3 separate regions of the Homo sapiens genome follow, and all the other regions are linked to region 1. The links are contacts of gene promoters, found by promoter capture Hi-C in human tissues and cell types (Jung and others, 2019). All regions are on one chromosome and are shown on one strand. Each heading gives the region's core, a stretch centred on a gene start or on the middle of the fragment in contact. The rest is flanking DNA. Distances are from core to core; before and after follow the strand shown. Region 1 holds the start of TLE2 (TLE family member 2, transcriptional corepressor). Region 2 holds the start of CELF5 (CUGBP Elav-like family member 5). Region 3 overlaps ZNF556 (zinc finger protein 556).

Region 1 (4,481 bases), core at 977-3,476:
GGTCAATCTCAGAACCGTGAGGTCTATCTCAGAACACTGAGGTCAATCTCAGAACCCTGAGGTCTATCTCTGAACCTTGAGGTCAATCTCAGAACCCTGAGGTCTATTTCAGAACCCTGAAGTCTGTCTCAGAACCTTGGATCACACTGAGAAGCTCCAGAAGAGGCTCAGAGCCTTACGACACTGGAGTCAATCTCAAAGCCCTGAAGACAGCCACAGAGTTTTGAGGTCTATTTTGGAGTAGTGGGGTCACAGTCTGAACCATGGCATCAAATTCAGGGCCTGGAGAACAATCTTGGAACCTTCCAGCCAATCACACTGAGACCAATCTCAGAAGCTTCAAAGCAGCAACAGAACCTGGGGTCCATCTCAAAACTTCAGACTTTCTGGGTTGAAAGGGACCTCTAAGAGTGGCCATCCAGCTCCCTCCTAGGACAGAAGTCACTTCCACAGCCTCCCTGGCCTGGCTGCCCTGCCTCTGCTATGTGCCCTCCTTGATGGGGATGCCTGGTGGCCCCTGCCCACTGCCTGCATCTCTGCTGGACGCTCCAACTGCTAGATACTGTCTTCAGAAGGTGGGACTCATTTTCCTTCCACGAGGCTGAAATCTGTCTTCCTGGTCCCAGATGGGCCCTCTGTGACCTCTGCGGAGATTTCAGGATGAGACCCGTGTTCCCTAGGTCTGCTCTGGCCCCGGCTGCCCACTCTGGGTCCTTCTCAGGGCTTCCAGACCCCCACCCTCCCTCCTGAACACGCGTAACCCCAACCCAGTTACCTGCTTATGCATTTCAATGTTGAGCCCGTACGACATCTCATAATACTGCAAAGGAAAAACCAAGTAAGAACGTCTAGGGTGGAGATGGGTGCCCTCCTCCAGATAGGTGATGCCAGGGTCTTCCAAGAGTCCCCAGGTTCAGGGGAATCACAGCAGGAAGCAGAGCCCCCCCCAGCTCCACGGGGTCCCAGAGGAGGAAGCGGGGGCTCTGCCTGGAAGGGCCCCCTCTACTCTCCCCAGAGAGGCAGGGCAGGTAGGAAGTGTCCAGAGGCCCTGGCCCGACAGAGACTCCCATCAGGCGAGGGGTCCTCCCTGTCTCCCCATTCCCAGAGCTGGGAGGACCCTCCTAGAGAGCCTGAAATCCCAACCTGCCCAATGTACAGACGGGGAAGACGAGGTTCGGAGTGGGGCAGGGACCTACCCCAGAGTCCACCGTGACTCAAAGCCCTGCCCGCCTCTCCCCTCACCCTGGCATCATAAGTGCCCTCACCATGACATAATGTCGCTGCATTTCCGTCTTCTCGCTGGCCAGCTTCTCACATTCTAGCTTGAGGCTGAGAAGAAGAGAGAGGGCAAGGGGCTCCCACCCGCCCCATGTGGGCCGGCTTCCAAAGTGAGAGGCTGGATCTCCCCCTCCCGACTTCCTTACAGACCTCCCCCCACCTCCTGTCCCAGTCCCTCCCCGCCCCTTCCTGGGCTCCAAATGCCCCAGCTCTGACTGTCCCCAGACCCCTCTGCACCTGCGCTTCCACCTGGAGGCCTTTGTCGCGCCCCCCCTCCAACCGGGAGCCCCTCCTCCCCGCCCTATACCCCGGAGGCCTCGCCCCGCCCCGGCGCCCAGGTGAACTCCCGCGGCCCCTGGGGCGGCCCCCCTCACCTGTGGTATTGAGCCTGAAGAAACTGGAATTCTTCTTTGATGCGGTCGCAGATCTCCAAGATCGAGAACTTGAAGGGCTGGCCGGACTGGAGCGGGGTCTGGGGGGGGTGTGGGGGAAACGTCAGGGTCTGAGTTCCCGGACACTGGGGGCCCCCTCCCCGCAGTCCGCACTCACCGGGTGCCTTCCCTGGGGGTACATCCTGCCGATCCGAAAAGCCCCCCAGGCGCCACCAGAGCTTGATGATATGGAGGCGGCAAGAGTGGGGGAGGCTGAAGTGGGGTGGTGGGGAGGCTGCCCGAAGAAAGAGGGAGGAGGGAGAAGCGGCGCGGGGCAAGGGACCCTGGAGTCCCTGGCGCGCCCCCAAGCGCGCGCGCCCGGGGTCGTGGGAGCCCCTCCCCGGGTTGGGGTGCGCGGGGCGAGCGGGGCGGGCAGGGGCAGCGGCCGGGGCGGGAGCGCGGCGAGGGCGGCCGCGGCAGCCGGCGCAGAAGGTCGGGCGCGCCGCGGCCGGGTTTCGGTGGCGGCGGCGCGGGCGGCGGGCCCCGCGCGGAGCCGCCTCCCTCCGGCGGGGCTCGGCCGGGAGCCGCGGGCTGAGCCGCCTTAAGGTGGCGCCGCCGCCCCCACGCGCCCGCGGCCCGCCCCGCGCCCACCCCCGCGCACCGCCCCTCCCCGCGCCCGCGCCCCCCCCGGCCCCCGGGCACCCGCCCCCTTCCTTCAGTCCCTGGGCCGTTGGGGAAACTGAGGCCGGGTGGGGAGGCGCCCAGTGCCTTAAAACAGGGTCCCCACCCCCTCCCGGAGGGGCGGGAGAAGAAAAACCAGTGAAGAAATTCACACCGTGTTACCCACCGTGGGAGCGGGGGGGGGGGCTTGCGGGGAGCGGGGACCAGTCTGGAGTCGGAAATGGCTTTTCTGAGCAAGTGACATTGGGTTGAGATTGAAGGGTCAGCAGGACGCAGCCTTGCCAAGCGCTGGCAGGGAACCCTGCCAGAAAGGGAATCTCACAGCAAACACTGCTTCCCAGATCATGCCGGGCCCTCGCCCTCTGGGGGCCTCAGTAGTCTCTGCAAAAGGTCAGGGGTGGTGCGCTATCTTTAGGGTTTAATTTTTTGCAGAGATAGGGTCTCCCTGTGTTGCCCAGGCTGGAGTACAGTGGGGCAATCATGGCTCACTGCAGCCTCGAACTCCTGGGCTCAAGCGATCCTTCCCCCTCAGCTTCTCCAGTAGCTGGGACTACAGGTGTGCACCACCACGCCCAGCTAATTTTTTAATTTTTTGCAGAGATGGAGTAGGGGGGCGTCTCACTATGTTGCCCAGGCTGGTCTTGAACTCCTGGACTCAAGCCTCTCTCTTCGGCCTTCCAAAGTGCTGGGATTACGGGCGGGAGCCACCGCACTGGGCACTGCACTTAAATGAGATAGTGCATGAACGCTGTCAGCCTCTCCCTACACAGAGCAAACTTCCACAGATGGGAATTGTGTTCCTACTGCCATCACCAGTGGACTGGGCTGTCTCCCCTCTCAGACTGGGTTTCTTGAAGGCAGGAGCCGTGTCCCACTCAGAACTGGAAGAACCACAGCTCTGCCATCAGACTCAAGTCTCTCCCACGGCAAAGGCTCCAGCCCCGACCAGAGACCACAGACATCCAGCCAGCATCCTTCAGGCCCACCCGGGGAGTGGGAAGTTCTTATTCTCTTTGGAGAAACCTCAGGAGAGGTTTGTGAAGTCAATCAACAAACGTGTACTAAATGCATACTGTGGACCACACACTGCTGTAGACACTGGGGCACAGCTGGGAACAAAACAGAGAAAAATCCATGCCCCTTGATGACACTTGGACTTGTGTCCTTAGGTGATCGAGTACCTAATGGTACCTAAGGGTTAGGGTTACAAAAACCCATTTTGTACCCTTACAAAAGGGCACAAGAGCCCTTATCAATGGGCCAGGGGTGGTGGGTCATGCCTGTAGCTCCAGCACTTTGGGAAGCTGAGGAGGGAGGATCGCTTGAGCCCAGGAGTTCAAGACCAGTGTGGACAACACCGCGACAATACAAAAAAACATTTTTGTGTTTTTTGTATCTCTACAAAAAATACAAAAATAATTAGCCAGGCATGGTGATGCACACCTGTGGTCCCGGCTACTTGGGGGGCTGAGGCGGGAGATACCTGAGCCCCAGAAGGTCAAGGCTGCACTGAGTTGAGATCACATCACTGCACTCCAGCCTGGGTGACAGAGCAGGACCTTGTCTCAAAAAAAAAAAAAAAAAGCCCTTATCAAATTTAAAGCCATCGTTTTCCAGCCCACAGATATTTACAGAGCACCTATGACGTGTCAGGCATCCTTCCAGGCACAGGGATTGTAAGGGTGGATAAGGGAGACAGATCCCTGCCCTCTCTGAGTTTGTGGGATGTGAGTGACAGGCTAGGCAGGTTCACAGCTTGGTAATTATGGGACTATTTGTACAGACAGAGGAAGAGTTTAGAGGGCAGTGATAGAGATGAACAAAAGCAAACCTGCTTATGTGGGGTGTCTGGGAGAGGACCCTTGGGGGAGGGTAGCCTTGGAGATGAGACCTGAACGATGAGGTTGGGCAGCTCTGGGAAGGGAGGAAAAGAGACACAGCCTGGGATAAAGATACAATTGTGTGTGTGTGTGTGTGTGTGTGTGTGTGTGTGTGTGTGTGTGTAGTACTCACTAGCTCCCTATTGCCCTCAAAATAAATCCAAACTCATCTCTCTTCCCACAAGGCTCTTCACAAAACTCTTCCCCTTTTCCCCTTCACCATCTCTTTATGTTTTGTTTATTGTTTATAGAGACAAGGTCTCACTGTGTT
Region 2 (4,481 bases), core at 630-3,129, 200 kb after region 1:
TGAGCGGTTTTAGATAAGGTAGATGGGGAAAGTGATGGGGAATTAAGGAATGAGCCACACATCATCTGGGGAGAGCACATCCCAGACAAAGGGTACAGCCCGTGCAAAGGCCCTGAGGCAGGACCGCACCTGACAAGTGAGAGGAACAGCGAGGAGGCCTGTGTAGCTGCAGCAGTGAGGAGGGGGAGAGAGGGAGCAGGGGAAGGTGGGGACAAGGCAGAACAGGACACGCAGAGCCTTGTGGGCCTCAAGAAGGACTTGGGCTTTAATTATGGGACATCTTTGGGAAGTGTTTTTTTTTTTTTTTTTTTTGAGACAAGATTTCATTCTGTCGCCTAGACCAGAGGCAGTGGTGCGATCCTGGTTCACTGCAGCTTTAATATCCCAGGGATCAACCGATGCTCCCACCGCAGCCTCCGAGTAGCTGGGACCAACGGTGCACACCAACCACTCCTGGCTGATTTTTTTTTTTTTTTTTCTCAAACAGAGTTTCACTCTTGTTGCCCAGGCTGGAGTGCAATGGCGCAATCTCGGCTCACTGCAATCTCCGCCTCCCGGGTTCAAGCGATTTTCCTGCCTCAGCCTCCTGAGTAGCTGGGATTACAGGCATGCACAACCATGCCTGGCTAATTTTTGTGTTTTTAGTAGAGACAGAGTTTTCTCCATGTTGATCAGGCTGGTCTCGAACTCCTGATCTCAGGTGATCCACCTGCCTCAGCCTCCCAAAGTGCTGGGATTACAGGTGTGAGCCATCGTGCCTGGCCTGTTTTCTTATTTTTTACAGCAATGGCGTCTCACTATGTTGCTCAGGCTGGTCTCCAACTCCTGGGCTCAAGTGGTCCTCCTGACTCTGCTTCTCAAAGTGCTGGGATTACAGGTGTGAGCCACCACGGCCAGCACGTATTATTATTTTTATTAATATTATTGATGAGTTTCATACGTAAAGGATCACGGGCACTTTAGAGCTGGGAGATACTTCAGTATTTCTCCTATCCTGTCATTATCAGTGCGAGCCAGTCTCCCTCCTTGTTGATGACATTATTGATGAGTTACATACTTAAAGGGCCAAGGACACTTTCTATGTGTAAGCACCCTATAGAACTGGAAGATACTTTTACCATTTCTCCTGTGCTGTCGTGATTAGTGGGAGCACTTTGTCTTGCTCTTGATTAATTATTATTAGTGTTGTTATTATTAGGTGTTTTTTTTTTTTTTTTTTACCAAGACGGAGTTTTGCTCTTGTTGCCCAGGCTGGAGTACAATGGCACAATCTTGGCTCACTGCAACCTCCGCCTCCTGGGTTCAAGTGATTATCCTGCCTCAGCCTCCCGAGTAGCTGGGATTACAGGCACCCCCCGCCACCGAGCCCAGCTAATTTTTGTATTCTTTAGTAGAGACGGGGTTTCACCGTGTTAGCCAGTCTGGTCTCGAACTCCTGACCTCAAGTGATCCACCCACCTCGGCCTCCCAAAGTGCTGAGATGACAGGCGTGAGCCACCGCGCCCAGCCATATTATTAGTGTTATTAATATTATTGATGAGTTACCTACTTTAAGGATCACGGGCGCTTTCAACGACAAGCCCCCTACATTATCCCAGCAACTTTTGACATTCTTCCGGCCGATGCCCTCCGCGGGAGCCGGCGGGGACCCCTGGGAAGCCGGCTAAGGCCCGTCCCGCCCGCAGCTCCGCCCTCGCCCACCCGTAGGCGGGGCCCGGGGCCTTCCGGCCTCAGTTTCCCCCCGCGGCCCGGGGATGCGGGGAGGCGCCGGCTGCCCCGCGCGGCGCGGCCGCCAGGGGCCGCTGCGGAGCCGCCTTTGTGGTCCCGATGCCGGGGCGGGCGCGGGCGGGAGGAGGGCGCGGGGGCCCGGGAGGGAGGCGGGAGGCGCGGCCGCCGCTCCAGCTGCGAGTCCGCCCGCCGCCCGCCGCCGCCGCCGCCGGCTCGGTCCCGCGCCCGCCATGGCCCGCCTGACGGAGAGCGAGGCGCGCCGGCAGCAGCAGCAGCTCCTGCAGCCGCGGCCCTCGCCCGTGGGCAGCAGCGGGCCCGAGCCCCCCGGGGGGCAGCCCGACGGCATGAAGGACCTGGACGCCATCAAACTCTTCGTGGGCCAGATCCCGCGGCACCTGGACGAGAAGGACCTCAAGCCGCTCTTCGAGCAGTTCGGCCGCATCTACGAGCTCACGGTGCTCAAAGACCCCTACACGGGGATGCACAAAGGTGGGCGCCCGGCCCCCTCCCCCCTCTCCCCCTCCCTCCGCCTCCCACCCCACCTTCCGGCATCTTCTCTCCCCCATCACCATCCCTCCTCTGCTCACCTCCCTCCTCTGCCTGCCTCTGCCGGAGCATCGGTTCTTACCCCCTCCCTCCCACCCACCCCTCCTCCCCTCTCTGGGGGTGCAGCTGACAGATCCGAGCGGGCCCCCTCCCCTCCTCCGCCCCCTCTCCCTCCCTCCCCACCTTCCGGCATCTCCTCTCTCTCTCCCTCTCTCTCTCCCTCTCTCTCTCCCTTTCTCTTCTCTCCCATCTCCCTCGACCTCTCATCCTTCCCCCCACAGCACCCTCTCTCTCCCTCCCTCCCTCCCTCACCCTTCCATCCCCCAGACCCCCACCCCTTCCTCCCTCCCTCACCCCACTCTTTCCTGCCCGTTTGCCAGGGGAGCCTCGGGAACGCCGGCACCCCTCCCTGCCCCCCCACCCCCATTCATTCAGCCTCCCCAGGCCCCGTCGGGGAAGTTTGCACCTGCGGACTCCATTGCTTTGGTTATTTTCACAAAGCCAGGCCGGCGGGGCAGGTCCGGCCGCGGGGGACACGGATGCCCAGGACCCCAGGCTAATCGGTAACTACAAAGGAAGACGGGTTGGGGGCGCCCGGCTCGGGGGGACGCGCCCGCCTCGCCTGCCTCGGGTGGCGGAGAGGCTCCCGTCGCTGCCCACCCCCTGGCCCCACCACCTCCGCGTGGATCAGCATTCTCTCCTCCATTTCTCTGCCCTCCCCCTCCCCCGCCTCCACCTTGGGCTCAAGTTGAAACTGGCCGAGCCTCTTAGCAATGTGTTGGGGTCTCAGGCCCAAGACAATGAGCTTGGACGTGTCCATCTGGGCAGAGCCCAAATTCTGGGGTGGACAGGGAGGAGGAGGGAGGCGTGGGCGGCCTCAGGCCTGTCTGCCTCCCTCCCACTGGATTCTCCCTCCGATGGCATCCCGGGTGGGGGTGTCCGGCAATTGTATCCCCAGCCCTTGGTTCCCATCATGGGCCCAGCGTCTGAATTGGGGTGGCTTTGACAGCCTTCCGGTCAGGTGTTGGGGACTGGGGGTGCCACTTCAAAGGCCTTGTGCTGGACACCCCCGGCCCTCCCCCTCCCATCCTCCAGGAAGACCCTGGAGAGGCCTTGGGGAAGGACCGGGGCCCATGACCTATTTTACACCCACTTTTTCCCCAGCGCTGCGTGCCCGGTAAGCATGAATGCATGTTTATTGAATGAATGAATTGAATGAATGAATGAATGAATGAATGAATGAATGAAGGGGTTCAAGAAGGCCCTAGGGAGGGTCTGGTGAGATGGGGCCCAGGCCTGTCACTTCAGCTAGACCCTCCAGCTGGTTATCTTGAGGGAGGAAAGAAACCCCTCCCCATTCCCCATCTCTTTTCAAAACCAACCATCACACACACACACACACACACACACACACACACACAAAATTGGGCCTGAAAAATCTAACTCCTCCATGTGGCCTAGGAGGGCAGAGGGGCTCCCATGCGGCCCCCATAAGTCAATATCTGGAGTCCAGAGGTGATAGGTGGGCTTTTCCCACACGCCCCCACCCCTGGGTACACCCAAAGCACCCATTTCTAGAAAGATTCCCGTGGGAATGGGGGAGTCCACATGGCCCCCCAAACGGTTGCATTGAAAGGCCGCTGGTTGAGCTCTAGGTCGGAGAGACAGGTGGGGGTGCAGGGACTGGAGCATCCTGGTGACTCTTCTTCATCTTTTTTTTTTTTTCCTTCTTATTTTTAAATCTCTGGGAAACCTGGGCACGGGAGAAGTGAGGGGTGAAGGAGGGGCTGGGGCTGGGTTTTCACCTGGCCCTGAGCCTCAGTTTCCCTGCTGTCAACAGAGCAGGACCATGACGCATCCCCAGTTCTTTTTTTACAGGTTGGAGAATGTTGGGGTCCCTGGGGTACCTCGGGGGTATTTCCCATTTGCGGGCTTTCCTTGGAGGGTGAGAATTGAGAAGCCGTGTGCACGACAGCCGGCAATCACCCTCCACTTTTTAGGGGTCCCAGGTCCGTCTGTGTGTGAGATACAGGGGCTTCACCTCGTGTCGAAAATGGGTCCAGTACCCTCGGGGAAGTGAATCCCCACCTGCGTGGGGCCTGGCTGGACTTCACCTGGTCTTTGCCTGCAGGTGCTTGGCACGAAGGGGTGGGGGGGTGTCTTCAGAATCAGCATCTGTGATCCAGGTTTGCGTTTGGGGCTCAGCT
Region 3 (4,481 bases), core at 588-3,087, 150 kb before region 1:
AGTTTCTGTTTCTGAGAAATATCTATTTACTGTGTTTGTGTTTTTAAAGAAGTTGGATTCTATACAAATGGATAAAATGTTTCTTAGAAATAGCCTATTTAACTGAGTTTTTCAAATAAGTTGTATACTAACAAATGTCAATCTCTGTTTTTTATTTACTGGGAGAATGTATTAAAATATTGAAAATTGCCAAATCAACATGGTGACTTTAAAAATGATACTTCTGGGCCAGGCACAGTGGCTCACGCCTGTAATCCCAGCACTTTGGGGAGGCCAAGGCGGGCAGATCATGAGGTCAAGAGATCGAGACCATCCTGGCTAACACGGTGAAACCCCATCTCTACTAAAAATACAAAATATTAGTGGGGTGTGCTGGTAGGTGCCTGTAGTCCCAGCTACTCGGGAGGCTGAGGAAGGAGAATGGCTTGAACCTGGGAGGCGGAGCTTGCCAAGATTGCGACACTGCACTCCAGCCTGGGTGACAGAGCGAGACTCCGTCTCAAAAAAAAGAATTATACTTCTGAATTAATATTACCAGATGCATTCAGATTTAGACATTTTCTTTCTAGTACATTTGTTTCCTATACTGTTATAATTTTGTCTAAGAAATTCTTTTTTTTTTTTTTGAGACAGATTCTCGCTCTGTTACCCAGGCTGGAGTGCAGTGCCGTGATCTTGGCTCACTGCAACCCCCCCGCCAAGGTTCAAGTGATTCTCCTACCTCAGCCTCCTGAAGAGCTGGGATTACAGGCACCCGCCACCACACCCGGCTAATTTTTGTATTTTTAGTAGAGACGGGGTTTCACTATGCTGGCCAGGCTGGTCTCGATCTCCTGACCTTGTGATCTGCCCACCTCGGCCTCCCAAAGTGCTGGGGTTACAGGCGTGAGCCACCGCGCCCAGCCTAATAAATTCTTGTTTATTCATAATGACAAAAACTTACGTAACGGTTTTATAAATTTAAGTATTAAATAAGTCTAGCAAAAGACATAAAAAGATAACTAATAAAACAAGTTTAAACTTTATTGGAGCCCAGTAGCAATGGCTCACGCCTGTAATCCCAGGACCCACCGAGGCGGGTGGATCACCTGATGTGAGGAGTTCGAGACCACGCTGGCCAACATGGTGAACATGGTGAAACCTTGTCTCTACTAAAAATACAAAAAATTGGCCAGGCGTGGTGGCAGGCGCCTGTAATCCCAGCTACTTGGGAGGCTGAGGCAGGAGAATCGCTTGAACCCGGGAGGCAGAGGTTGCAGTGAGCCAAGATTGCGCCACTGCACTCCAGCCTGGGCGACAAGAGTAAGACTCCATCTCAAAAAAAAAAAAATTTTTTTTTTGGATAATATCAAGGCAGAATAAAGTATAGTATCAAACTTGACAAGGTAGATAATAGGGAATGCAGAATAAAGGATCGGGCTTCAGTAAGTGACAATCTCATCATGAATTCATTTATAGTTCCACCATGTAATATGTCTTAAATACTATTTCTTTTTTTTTAATACTATTTCAAGAACTGCTCATGAGTTAGGAAATAGTGAGCAGTAATACAGAAATAACGGCAGGACCAGGGGCAGTGGCTCACACTTGTAATTCCAAAGCTTCGGGAGGCTGAGGCAGGAGGATCACTTGAGCACAGGAGTTCAAGGCCAGTCTGGGCACATAGTGAGACACAGTCTCTATAAAAAGAAATTTTTAAAAGTATCTAGGCATGGTGATGTGCACTTGTAGAGCCAGCTACTCAGGAGGCTGAGGGTGGAGGATGGCTTGAGACCAAGAGGTCCAGGCTGCAATGAGTTATCTTGCCACTGTACTCCAGCCAGGGTGACAGAATGAGACCGTGTGTCAAATTAAAAAGAAAAAAAGAAACAATAATTATTTCCCTGGCCGGGCGCGGTGGCTCACGCCTGTAATCCCAGCACTTTGGGAGGCTGAGGCGGGTGGATCACGAGGTCAGGAGATCAAGACCATCCTGGCTAACCCGGTGAAACCCTGTCTCTAGTAAAAAATACAAAAAATTAGCTGGGCGTGGTGGCAGGTGCCTGTAGTCCCAGCTACTCGGGAGGCTGAGGCAGGAGAATGGCGTGAACCCAGGAGGCGGAACTTGCAGTGAGCAGAGATCGAACCACTACACTCCAGCCTGGGCGACTGAGTGGGACTCTGTCTCAAAAAAAAAAAGAGACAAAAGGTATATTTATGGTTCAGCCTCATTTCTGCAAATATTAAAAATTTTAGGGCATGATGTATACATTTTATATATATATATATATAGTGTGTGTGTGTGTGTGTGTGTGTGTGTGTGTGTGAATGTGTGTGACGGAGTTTTGCTCTGTTGCCAGGCTGGAGTGCAGTGGTGCGATCTCAGCTCACTGCAACCTCCACCTCCCAGGTTCAAGCGATTCTCCTGCCTCACCCTCCCAAGTGGCTGGGAATACAGGCGTGCCCCGCCACGCCCAGCTAATTTTTTGTATTTTTAGTACAGGTGGGGTTTCACCTTGTTGGCCAGGATGGTCTCGATCTCTTCACCTCGTGATCTGCCCGCCTTGGCCTCCCGCAGAGCTGGGATTACAGGCGTGAGCCACCGCACCAGGCCCATGTCATATGTTTTTATGAGTTTGGACATTGGCATCTGGGACCAGGTACTTCATCTGGATTTGAACCACAATGTGGGTGTTTGTTTTTAATACCTTTGTGAAATAATTTTAAATTGCCTTATATATTTGGCATTGTCACTTTGCTGCCCCTACACACTGATGGAAAAATTGTGTTCTGCAGAAAACTAGAGTTCCTCACAGGGTGAGGAAGAGTTATGGTCATCTGCACAGTTGTAGCCCGTTGCGAGTGTTTTCCCATGTGCACAGTGATATCTAGGCAAGTGTGCCATGATTTCCTGGTGAGGATAAAATCTATGGACGGTGAGAGAACTAGTCAAGGAATAACTGAAGTGAGCTGCAGACAGGATTATCATTTTGAGTAACATCCCAATGTATTTGTCATCCTTTAATTAATTTTTATTTTTTTAATTAAAAAATAATTTTTAAGTGTAAACCTTTAATGATCCACAAAGCCCAAAATGTCCATTTGATTTTCATAGGTATCGTTTCCATATGCTTAGACTTCCAGCAGCTATTAGAAGAGAAAAATATGTAACAGCTTTGTGTTTAATTAAAGGCAAATGAAATCCAGTCTGTGTCCATTTTCAATGTTAATAGTCTTGATAGCGGGCCGGGCGCAGTGGCTCACGCCTGTAATCCCAGCACTTTGGGAGGCTGAGGTGGGCAGATCACCGGAGGTCGGGAGTTCGAGACCAGCCTGACCAACATGGAGAAACGCTGTCTCTACTAAAAATACAAAAATTAGCTGGGCATGGTGGTGCGTGCCTGTAATCCCAGCTACTTGGGAGGTTGAGGCAGGAGAATTGCTTGAACCCGGGAGGCGGAGGTTGCAGCGAGCCGAGATGGCGTCACTGCACTCCAGCCTGGGCAACAAAAGCGAAACTCCACCTCAAAAAAAAAATAGTCTTGATAGCACTGCAAAGACTTCGTGTCATTTCACAATCACAGTTAGCTTATTTGATCACTCCTTCCCTACATTCCTCTCATTGTACAAATTGGTACCAGATGGAAAGTGCTGACTGTGAGATGTCCAGGTTCTTGACGCATTGAACAAAGAATTGAACAAAACACACAAAGCAATGACAGCGCAGATTTATTTAAATGAAAGTACACTCCACGGAGCGGGAGCCGGCCCTAGCGGGCAGCTCAAGAGCCCTGATTGCAATGTTCTTTAGGGTTTTTATAAGGCTACAAGAATTTTGTAACACCCCTAGGTGCCCTTTAGAGAACTCCAATTGGTTACCCCCTATGAAGGATTCGCCTGCAACCAATCAGAGGCTGAAGTGAAGACTTGGCCATGGCCAATCAGAGGCTGAGGTGGAGACTTGGCCCTGTCAAATCAGAGTCTGAAGTGGAGACTTCTATCTTGTTATCACAGCAGTGAGGATGTGGCCTGTTTCTGCCTAATCTTGCCTAGAAGTGGCTGCACCTGCTGTTCCTTTGCTTATGCCTTAACTGGTTATCCTAATTCCCTATTCTCCTGCCTCAAAATGACAAGTTAATCACAAGCAGCAGACTCATGGTTAACCTTACATATCCCAAAATAGTAATGGAATGTCTCCATAGTGAAAGCCTGATGTGTCTTACCACCTGTATTGGGCACTGTTCGAATTTTTATATTTCAAGACAAGTCATCTTCTTCTGGATAAAAAATAAAATTACACAGTTTGCCAAGTATGGCATTAGGTGTTTTGTTGTTGTTGTTGTTTGTTTGTTTTGAGATGGAGTTTTGCTCTTGTTGCCCAGGCTGGGGTGCAATGGCGTGATCTCAGCTCACTGCAACCTCCAACTCCCAGGTTCAAGTGATTCTCCTGCCTCAGCCTCCCAAGTAGCTGGGGTTACAGGCGCATGCCACCACACCCAGCT

What was found. The method cuts DNA at HindIII sites, captures the fragments that hold promoters and counts their contacts. A contact is called where the count stands out against the background at its distance.
Region 2: a contact is called between the fragment with the promoter of CELF5 here and the fragment with the promoter of TLE2 in region 1, in 8 of the 25 tissues and cell types used here (IMR-90 fibroblasts, aorta, dorsolateral prefrontal cortex and 5 more).
Region 3: a contact is called between a fragment that was not itself captured here and the fragment with the promoter of TLE2 in region 1, in 2 of the 25 tissues and cell types used here (adrenal gland and dorsolateral prefrontal cortex).

What each region holds. Positions count from the first base shown.
Region 1 is chr19:3,027,054-3,031,534 of GRCh38, forward strand. TLE2 (TLE family member 2, transcriptional corepressor) reads right to left here and starts at 2,227. Exons shown (of 20, transcript NM_003260.5): 1 at 1,828-2,227; 2 at 1,653-1,750; 3 at 1,266-1,329; 4 at 776-820. The coding sequence starts at 1,851. The HindIII fragment of the contact is 30,131 bases long and covers 1-4,481 here.
Region 2 is chr19:3,222,782-3,227,262 of GRCh38, forward strand. It overlaps CELF5 (CUGBP Elav-like family member 5), which reads left to right and starts at 1,880. Exons shown (of 13, transcript NM_021938.4): 1 at 1,880-2,217. The coding sequence starts at 1,959. RefSeq lists a silencer at 1,701-1,820. The HindIII fragment of the contact is 19,492 bases long and covers 1-4,481 here.
Region 3 is chr19:2,880,261-2,884,741 of GRCh38, forward strand. It overlaps ZNF556 (zinc finger protein 556), which reads left to right. Exons shown (of 4, transcript NM_024967.3): 4 at 1-3,185. Among named protein-coding and RNA genes, the nearest start is that of ZNF556, 15 kb to the left of the region's middle. The HindIII fragment of the contact is 5,975 bases long and covers 1-4,481 here.